2 separate regions of the Homo sapiens genome follow, and region 2 is linked to region 1. The links are contacts of gene promoters, found by promoter capture Hi-C in blood cells and fetal thymus (Javierre and others, 2016). All regions are on one chromosome and are shown on one strand. The core of a region is centred on a gene start or on the middle of the fragment in contact, and the rest is flanking DNA. Distances in the headings are between cores, read along the strand shown.

Region 1 (3,691 bases), core at 614-3,113:
GACCATGCTAAGCTGTGATGTTTGGGAGATTAGGTGTATTAAACACATTTCAACTTGCAATACTTTCAACCTATGATGTACTCACCGGAATGTAACCCATTGTAAACTGAGGAACACCTGTACTCACCCCACTGGAAGGGATGTGGGAGGAAGGTCAAGCGCCTCTTCCAGGTCAGAAGGGGCAGAGGTTGGATACAAACCAGGCAGCCTGGGTCCATGGTAAAAGAACCTCCACTAAGTGAGGCTGGGGCTGAATCCCACGTTTCCTGCCTCAAGGAGATTGCAGCAGGCCCCCCTCTTTTCCCCTCTCTCCAGAGCGAGTCACCCCCTGGCTCCCAGACAGCCACACCTGGTGAAGGAGAATGCGGTGACAATGGAGAGAACCCCCAGGTTCAGTAAGCTGCCTCGTCTGGCTCACTACACCTAGCTGTGGGGAGATCTCCTCGTCAGTCACCTCAGCCTTTGGCGCACAGAAGGGTCCAGGGTCCCCTGCTCAGAGGCTAACACTGGCCGAAGAGAAAGGCAATTTCAGTTGGGGTGACTGTGGCAGGAAGGGGCTCACTCTGGCCCCACCAAGGTGAGGTGGGGACCAAGTGATAGAGCCCTGATCCACCCACTCTCTGAAACTTCTTTGCTAATAAAACATTCCTACTACGCTTGTGTTTTGTTTGGGGTAGAGGGTGCAATCGACAAACACGACCCCCCGCCTCAAAAAGGAAAAGCTTCGTTTGGCAAGACCGCACGGCCAGGATTTCCAGAGTGCGGAGGATCGGTGACCGCCTGGGAGCCACTCAAGAAACCTGGAGAAACCCTAGTCGTATAACCCAGACAAGAACCTGAGTTAACTTGAAACACAAACGCTTTATTTAAAGGAGCATCTCAGTTACGTGTGGCGGACAAAAAAAAGGAGCAGACTGTGACAGACCATTCCCATCGGCCAAGTGGTCGAACCCGACATCCAAGACCCTGTAAACAGACCCAAACATGAGATGTTGACAGGCCCCGCAGCAATTGGCAAACTCCCGCCTCCCTCTTGTCAGTCTCTGTATGTAGACTCTGCCTCCCAAACCCTCTCACCCTGGGCTTAACGAAGCCTCCCTACCACCAACCAAAGGTCTATCAAAGGGGTGTCCTCTTTGCACCCACCAGCGAGCAGCCAAGCTCAGCGCAACCTCCGGGCTTCTCGCTCTGACTCCAAAAGGGTGAGCACGTCGCCCTCGCGCACGGGGCCTTTTACATTGCGGATGATGGATCGGCTCGTGTCGTCCATGAATTCCACGCGCACCTACGGGTCCCCACCGGAGTGGAGGAAGAAGTAAGGGCGGGCCGCGGAAAGGCACCGCGGAGTGGGAAGCAGATATGAATTCAGAGAACGTGTCGGGGCCAGAATACAGATCGTTAAAGGGAACCATCAGAACCCCGTGATGAAATGAGAATCGGCTCCCGGATTCCGGCTGGCAGGGGTTAGGGCAGGGTAGAGGTCACATCAGGGTTTAGGTCGCCGGCAGTCGGCCAAATGCCCCCACCCGATTACCTGCGTGCACTGTCCCTGAGAACCGGTCCTGCCCAGGACCTTGGTGACCTGGAGGAAAGAAGCTGGGTTCAGACCCGGCCCGTTTGGCTCCTCTAATCCCTCCCCCTGCCCCCAAATTCGGGCCCCCACCTCACCCTGGCCAGCTTGATAGGCTGCACACGGCTGGTGTCCATGATGGCGGCGCGGCGGCGGTCTGGCGGAGAGGAGTCACGTGCTTCGGGGAGAGCCTTTATAGGACGTTCTAGCACCGCCCACTCCCGTCTCGCGATACCACGCCGCGTCTTTCCCAGCAGCCCCAGCGGTGGAGACGTCACCGGCTGCGCCCTTCAGTATCGCGGACGGAAGATGGCGTCCGCCACCCGTCTCATCCAGCGGCTGCGGAACTGGGCGTCCGGGGTGCGCGGGGCGGACAGGGCTGCACCATGGGGGGCTTCGGGCTCCGTGTGTCCGGGACCCGCTCCTGCTCCTCACCTCCCTCCTAAGCCGGGACCCTTCGCTCTCCCCGAATCTCCCTGGGAACCCCCAGCTAGTCACCCCTTCAGCCCGGGACCCTCTCCTGGCCTGGGAACCACTCAGGCCTGGGATTTCCCCAGTCCCCGACCTTCTTAGCCTTGGATCTGTGGGCCCGGACTCTGGCTTTGCTCTTCACCTGCAGGACCCACATCCGTTTCCCCGAGTGTTCATCCCCTGCCTTCCCTTAAAATGCGCATCCCCGGACCATCCCTGGTCCCTTGCCCTCTCCTTTCCTCTCTCCTGGGGTGCCTTGCAGGCCGACCTCTCCTCTCCTCTTCCCACAGCATGACCTGCAGGGGAAGCTGCAGCTACGCTACCAGGAGATCTCCAAGCGGTGAGCAGGCCCCGCTCGCTGCCCAGCCTCTGGCTCTGTCCTTTCTCCACCAAAAACGAAATCTGTGTTCCTTTAGACCCCTGAAACGGAGGGCTGACATCCTGCCACCAGTCCCCTGCCAGGCTGTGGAGGCAGAGGTTTGCCTTTAACCTTGCTGAACTCCGGAGGACAGCCCTCCTGAAACAGCGAGGCCGGGCGTGCATTCTGACTGGCAATCAGGCTAGATTTGCAGTGCTCAGCGTGGCCATGTTAGTCAGTGTTATCCCCAAGCTACAGATGAAAAAAGAGGTCCAGAGAGGCGAAATCATTTGCCTCAAGTCACTCAGAAGCTAAAAAGTGGCAGCGGGGACTTGAACCCAGAAGTGTCCTGATTTCAGACTCATTTATATTAAAATATTAGTTGATATTTACAAGCCCCCGTCATGTATGACCTCAGCCTTGGGTTTAACTTTGTGAACCAGGAAAGTTCTTATCCACATTCTTTCATGGACGCCACATTCTAGGGAGAAGCATAGTAGGGAAACAAACACAGCAGGTAGTATTGTTCTGGAATGCTTTGAAGACAAAACAAAATAAGTGGAAGCTGGAGGGTGGCTACGTAAAGTCAGATGATTGGGAAAGATCTTTCTTTGGAAATTGACAGTTGAGTCCCCTGAATGATGGGAAGGACCCATTCAAAGAATAATTATTGAAAAAACATTCTGACCGGGCGCGGTGGCTCACGCTTGTGATCCCAGCACTTGGGGAGGCTGAGGCAGGCGGATCACGAGGTCAGGAGTTTGAGACCAGCCTGGCCAACACAGTGAAACACAGTAAAACCCCCTCTCTACTAGAAATACAAAAATTAGCCGGGCGTGGTGGCGCGCGCGGGTAGTCCCAGCTACTCGGGAGGTTGAGGCAGGAGAATCGCTTGAACACAGGAGGTGGATATTGCAGTGAGCTGAGATCGCACCACTGCACTCCAGCCTGGGTGACAGAACAACACTCTGTCTCAAAAAAATAAAAAAGAAAAAACATTCTGAGCAGAGGGAACAGGAAGGGCTAAGAGTGTCAGGCTGGACAGAGCCTGAGTGGAAGGAGGCCAGTATGGATGGAACCCATTGAGGGAAAGGGATAATGGTATAATCTATGAAGTCAAAGGGTAGGCAGAGGTAAGGCAGTCATTGAGGATTATAATGAAAGGAAGAAAAATAGCATTAAAATAATGAAATTTATGTAAATGCCTATATGTTGTGACTAATTCCAAATATTAGAAGTATCAAACTTTGTTTTCAACTTTTTTTTTTTTTTTTTTTTGAGACGGAGTTTTG
Region 2 (3,691 bases), core at 1,161-3,660, 130 kb before region 1:
AAATTAGCCGGGCGTAGTGGCGGGCGCCTGTAGTCCCAGCTACTTGGGAGGCTGAGGCAGGAGAATGGCGTGAACCCGGGAGGCGGAGCTTGCAGCGAGCCGAGATCCCGCCACTGCACTCCAGCCTGGGCGACAGAGCGAGACTCCGTCTCAAAAAAAAAAAAAAAAGAGACTCTTAGCACACAGTGAGGCAATGATGTATTTTTCTACCAATAATTTTATTGAGAAGGGTAGAGAGGGGGACTGATTCACTCCTAGCCTTCTACTGTTCAGGCTTTAAAACTAGCAAACCAGAGCCAAGGCTGAGAAAACCTAGGCATCATAATCATTACAGACTAGCAAAGGGACAATTTAGCTTTCAACCCTATGACTGCAAAATATGGTAATGGGGAAGTCCATTGGAGAACCCCCCCTCCCAAAAAAACAAGCAAGCTAATCTTTGCAGGCTAGTATCTCTTTCCCTAACCAGAATAAAATCAAAGAGCTGAGTGAAAGCAAAGGCCTGGCAGCATGCATTCAAATAATCCAAAACCCTGTCTTCTAATCTTGAGCTCACAATCTGACGTGTCTCCAAAATCCTTTTTGAATAAACAATCACTCTTTAAAGTACAGCAAACACTCAAATGCATTGTATAGAGAATCTGATTTAAATAAAACAATTCAAACGGCTGTTTACTGAGTGGTTACCAAGGTAGTATCATGAAAGCAGCAAGCTGCCTGGGAGTCAGGAGGGCCTCCCCTGGAGTCTTTAGGTCAGGTTCCTGAACCTGGGTTTAAGTGTTTAAAACGAAAGTTTTCTTGATTGTCAAATGGAGTCAACTCTAACAGTACCTCCTCAGGAATCTACCCTAAATATATATTTTTATTTTTATAAATAACCAATCCATCTGTTTCTTATTCACCCACAAAATTACTCAGGAAGGGGCCAGGTGTGGTAGCTCACGCCTATAATCCCAGCACTTTGGGAGGCCAAGACGGGCGGATAACGACGTCAGGAGATCGAGACCATCCTGGCTAACAGAGTGAAACCCCATCTCTACTAAAAAAAAATATTAAAAAAATTAGCCAGGCATGGTGGCGGGCGCCTGTAGTCCCAGCTACTCGTGAGGCTGAGGCAGGAGAATGGCGTGAACCCGGGAAGCGGTTCACGGAGCTTGCAGTGAGCTGAGATCGCGCCACTGCACTCCAGCCTGGGCAACAGAGCGAGACTCCATCTCAAAAAAAAAAAAAAATTACTCAGGAAGGGGAGCAGGTTAAGTCATTTATTTTATATATGATACTACATTTAAAAAAATTTTAAAAACCTATACATTCCCCTAAAATGAACTTTTTTTTCCCTGACTATACCCTAACTCTGAATCTTTGCTGACTTTAATTGGAACAGACTTCTCATCAAAATTAAGCAAATCCTATTCTCACACCCAGGAGAGAAGTAACTGCAAAACAAGATTTCCAACCTGGGTTCCCAGATCAAGCTTGCTAGCTCACTGCATTTGTGGTCTACTGCACACTCCACTCCTGGTAGAGAAAGAATTCCAAAGAACCAAGTTTCTATTTTTCTCCTGTCTCTCAAAGGCTTTCAAGATAAAAATCCAAATTCACTGCCCATCAGCTGGCTGCCAGTGCTCCAACCTTAAAACTCTATAGCAACTTCAGTGTTCTTGTTTGTTTGTTTGTTTGAAGAAGGAGTATCGCTCTGTCGCCCAGGCTGGAGTGCAGTGGCCCAATCTCGGCTCACTGCAAGCTCTGCCTCCCAGGTTCACGCCATTCTCCTGCCTCAGCCTCCCCAGTGGCTGAGACTACAGGAGCCCGGCACCACGCCCGGCTAATTTTTTGTATTTTTAGTAGAGACGGGGTTTCACCGTGTTAGCCAGGATGGTCTCTATCTCCTGACCTCGTGATCTGCCCGCCTCGGCCTCCCAAAGTGCTGAGATTACAGGCGTGAGCCGCCGGGCCCAGCCTGTTTTGTTTTTTCTTTTTTTTGGTAGAGACAGGGTTTCACCATGTTGCCCAGGCTGGTCTTGAACTCCTGAGCTCAAATAGTCCTCTCACCTCAGCCTCCCAAAGTGCTGGGATTACAGGTGTGAGCCACTACACCCAGCACAACTTCAGTTCTCGATAAAGCATACACTCAAATCTCTGCTCTTTGGATACTCTCTTCCCTGCCCCTCCCCAACCATCTTCTTCTCCTCCACTTCCACACGTCTTCCTGTCATGGAGGAACAGGTCCCTGCCCCCAGCAGGTGGCGGAGGTCACCTCCTCCATTCTTTCTACCAAGCAACTCCACTAACTTCTATCACAGCATAATTACCTTATGTTATGGTAATTACATAACATACATAACATACAAATATGTTAATGGCCTCTCCACTCTGCATGGAGTGCAAAAGTATAGGCTTCTAAAGAGATTTCCTTAAGACTTGTAATGAAAAAAAAAAAAAAAAGTTTTCCACAGGCCCTATCAAAAATATCCAAGTGTTGCCAGCTTCCTAAACTATCCTCTATGAAGCTAGTACTAGACTTTGAGACTTTGAGCCTCTTTCTCACAACGGCTATTTTATTCTACAATTTTCAGGTTCCAACAGTCCACATGTATTTGTAAAATGACTCAGTCACAAAATGACTATTTGAAAATGGACAGGGGAAAAGGGAAAATTTGTAATCTATTAATTTACCCTATCATCTAGCAAGGTTCTACCAGCACTCCTTCCTGCATACGGTAAATAAATTTATCTTAAAGCCCTCCAAATACCACCCTCAGAAATCCTACCAGCTTCCGTAGATAGACGCTGAAAAAGTCAAAATTAACACATTCCTTCCCAGAGTTTTCAATAGTAAAATGCTGGGAATAGAGGAAGTTTTTCTCATTTCTAAGGGCCAGTAACCATGGTATTTTATTTCTCCCTACTTAAGGAGGGAAAGAATCTGGAATTTTCTCCGGATTTATTATCTACCAATATAGCTAGCACTTAGGGAACGTTCTTAACCTAAGCGCTCAACTAGGCAGGGCGCAGTAGCTCATGCCTGTAACTTCAGCACTTTGGAAGGCCTAGGCAGGAGGATGGCTTGAACCCAGGAGTTTCAGACCAGCCTGGGCAACACCCGGAGACCTCCTCTCTTCAAAAAATTAGCCGGGCATGGTGGTGCCGCGCCTGTGATCCCAGCTACTCAGGAGGCTGAGATGGAAGGATCGATTGAGCCCAGGAGTTCGAGGCTGCAGTGATCTGTGATCGTGCCACTGCATCCCAGCTTGGGTAACAGAGGGAGACCCTGTCTCAAAGAAAAAAATTAAATATATAAGTGCTCAACCGCATTCACTTTTAATCTCCATAAACTAAGCTTCACACATTACAATATGAGGAAGGCAAAGTCACAGACAGAAAGGAAAGAAAACGGAGGGAGTTAGTATTTAATAGCTACACTTTCTGTTTCCGATGATGAAAAAGTTCTGGACATGAAGCAGTGACGGTTACAGCACACTGAGTCAGTATACTCAATGCCACTGAATTATACGCTTAAAAAATGGTTAAAATGGCAAAGTCTACGTTATGTCTATTTTACCACAATGAAATAAATGTCTGGGAAATTCAATGTGTACCCAGGCTTCCCCTTCCTTCCCGGCCGCTGATCTTGGAGCCAAAACCTCTCTGTCTCTCTTAAGTGTCTGTAATCAGAATGAATGAGTTTCAC

The links. The method cuts DNA at HindIII sites, captures the fragments that hold promoters and counts their contacts. A CHiCAGO score of 5 or more calls a contact.
Region 2: a fragment that was not itself captured here is called in contact with the fragment with the promoter of NDUFA7 in region 1 in 2 of 17 cell types (erythroblasts and naive CD4 T cells); the score reaches 6.1 in erythroblasts.

What each region holds. Positions count from the first base shown.
Region 1 is chr19:8,319,547-8,323,237 of GRCh38, reverse strand. NDUFA7 (NADH:ubiquinone oxidoreductase subunit A7) reads left to right here and starts at 1,863. Exons shown (of 4, transcript NM_005001.5): 1 at 1,863-1,930; 2 at 2,332-2,381. The coding sequence starts at 1,880. It overlaps RPS28 (ribosomal protein S28), which reads right to left and starts at 1,742. Exons shown (of 4, transcript NM_001031.5): 1 at 1,669-1,742; 2 at 1,535-1,582; 3 at 1,147-1,285; 4 at 1-966. The coding sequence starts at 1,707. The coding sequence ends at 1,163. It overlaps KANK3 (KN motif and ankyrin repeat domains 3), which reads left to right. Exons shown (of 11, transcript NM_198471.3): 11 at 316-654. The coding sequence ends at 399. RefSeq lists enhancers at 1-839, 840-1,807, 1,714-1,953, 1,808-2,775, 2,776-3,691. The HindIII fragment of the contact is 9,773 bases long and covers 725-3,691 here.
Region 2 is chr19:8,446,015-8,449,705 of GRCh38, reverse strand. The region is part of intron 1 of HNRNPM (heterogeneous nuclear ribonucleoprotein M); the gene reads right to left. Among named protein-coding and RNA genes, the nearest start is that of HNRNPM, 2.9 kb to the right of the region's middle. The HindIII fragment of the contact is 1,865 bases long and covers 1,478-3,342 here.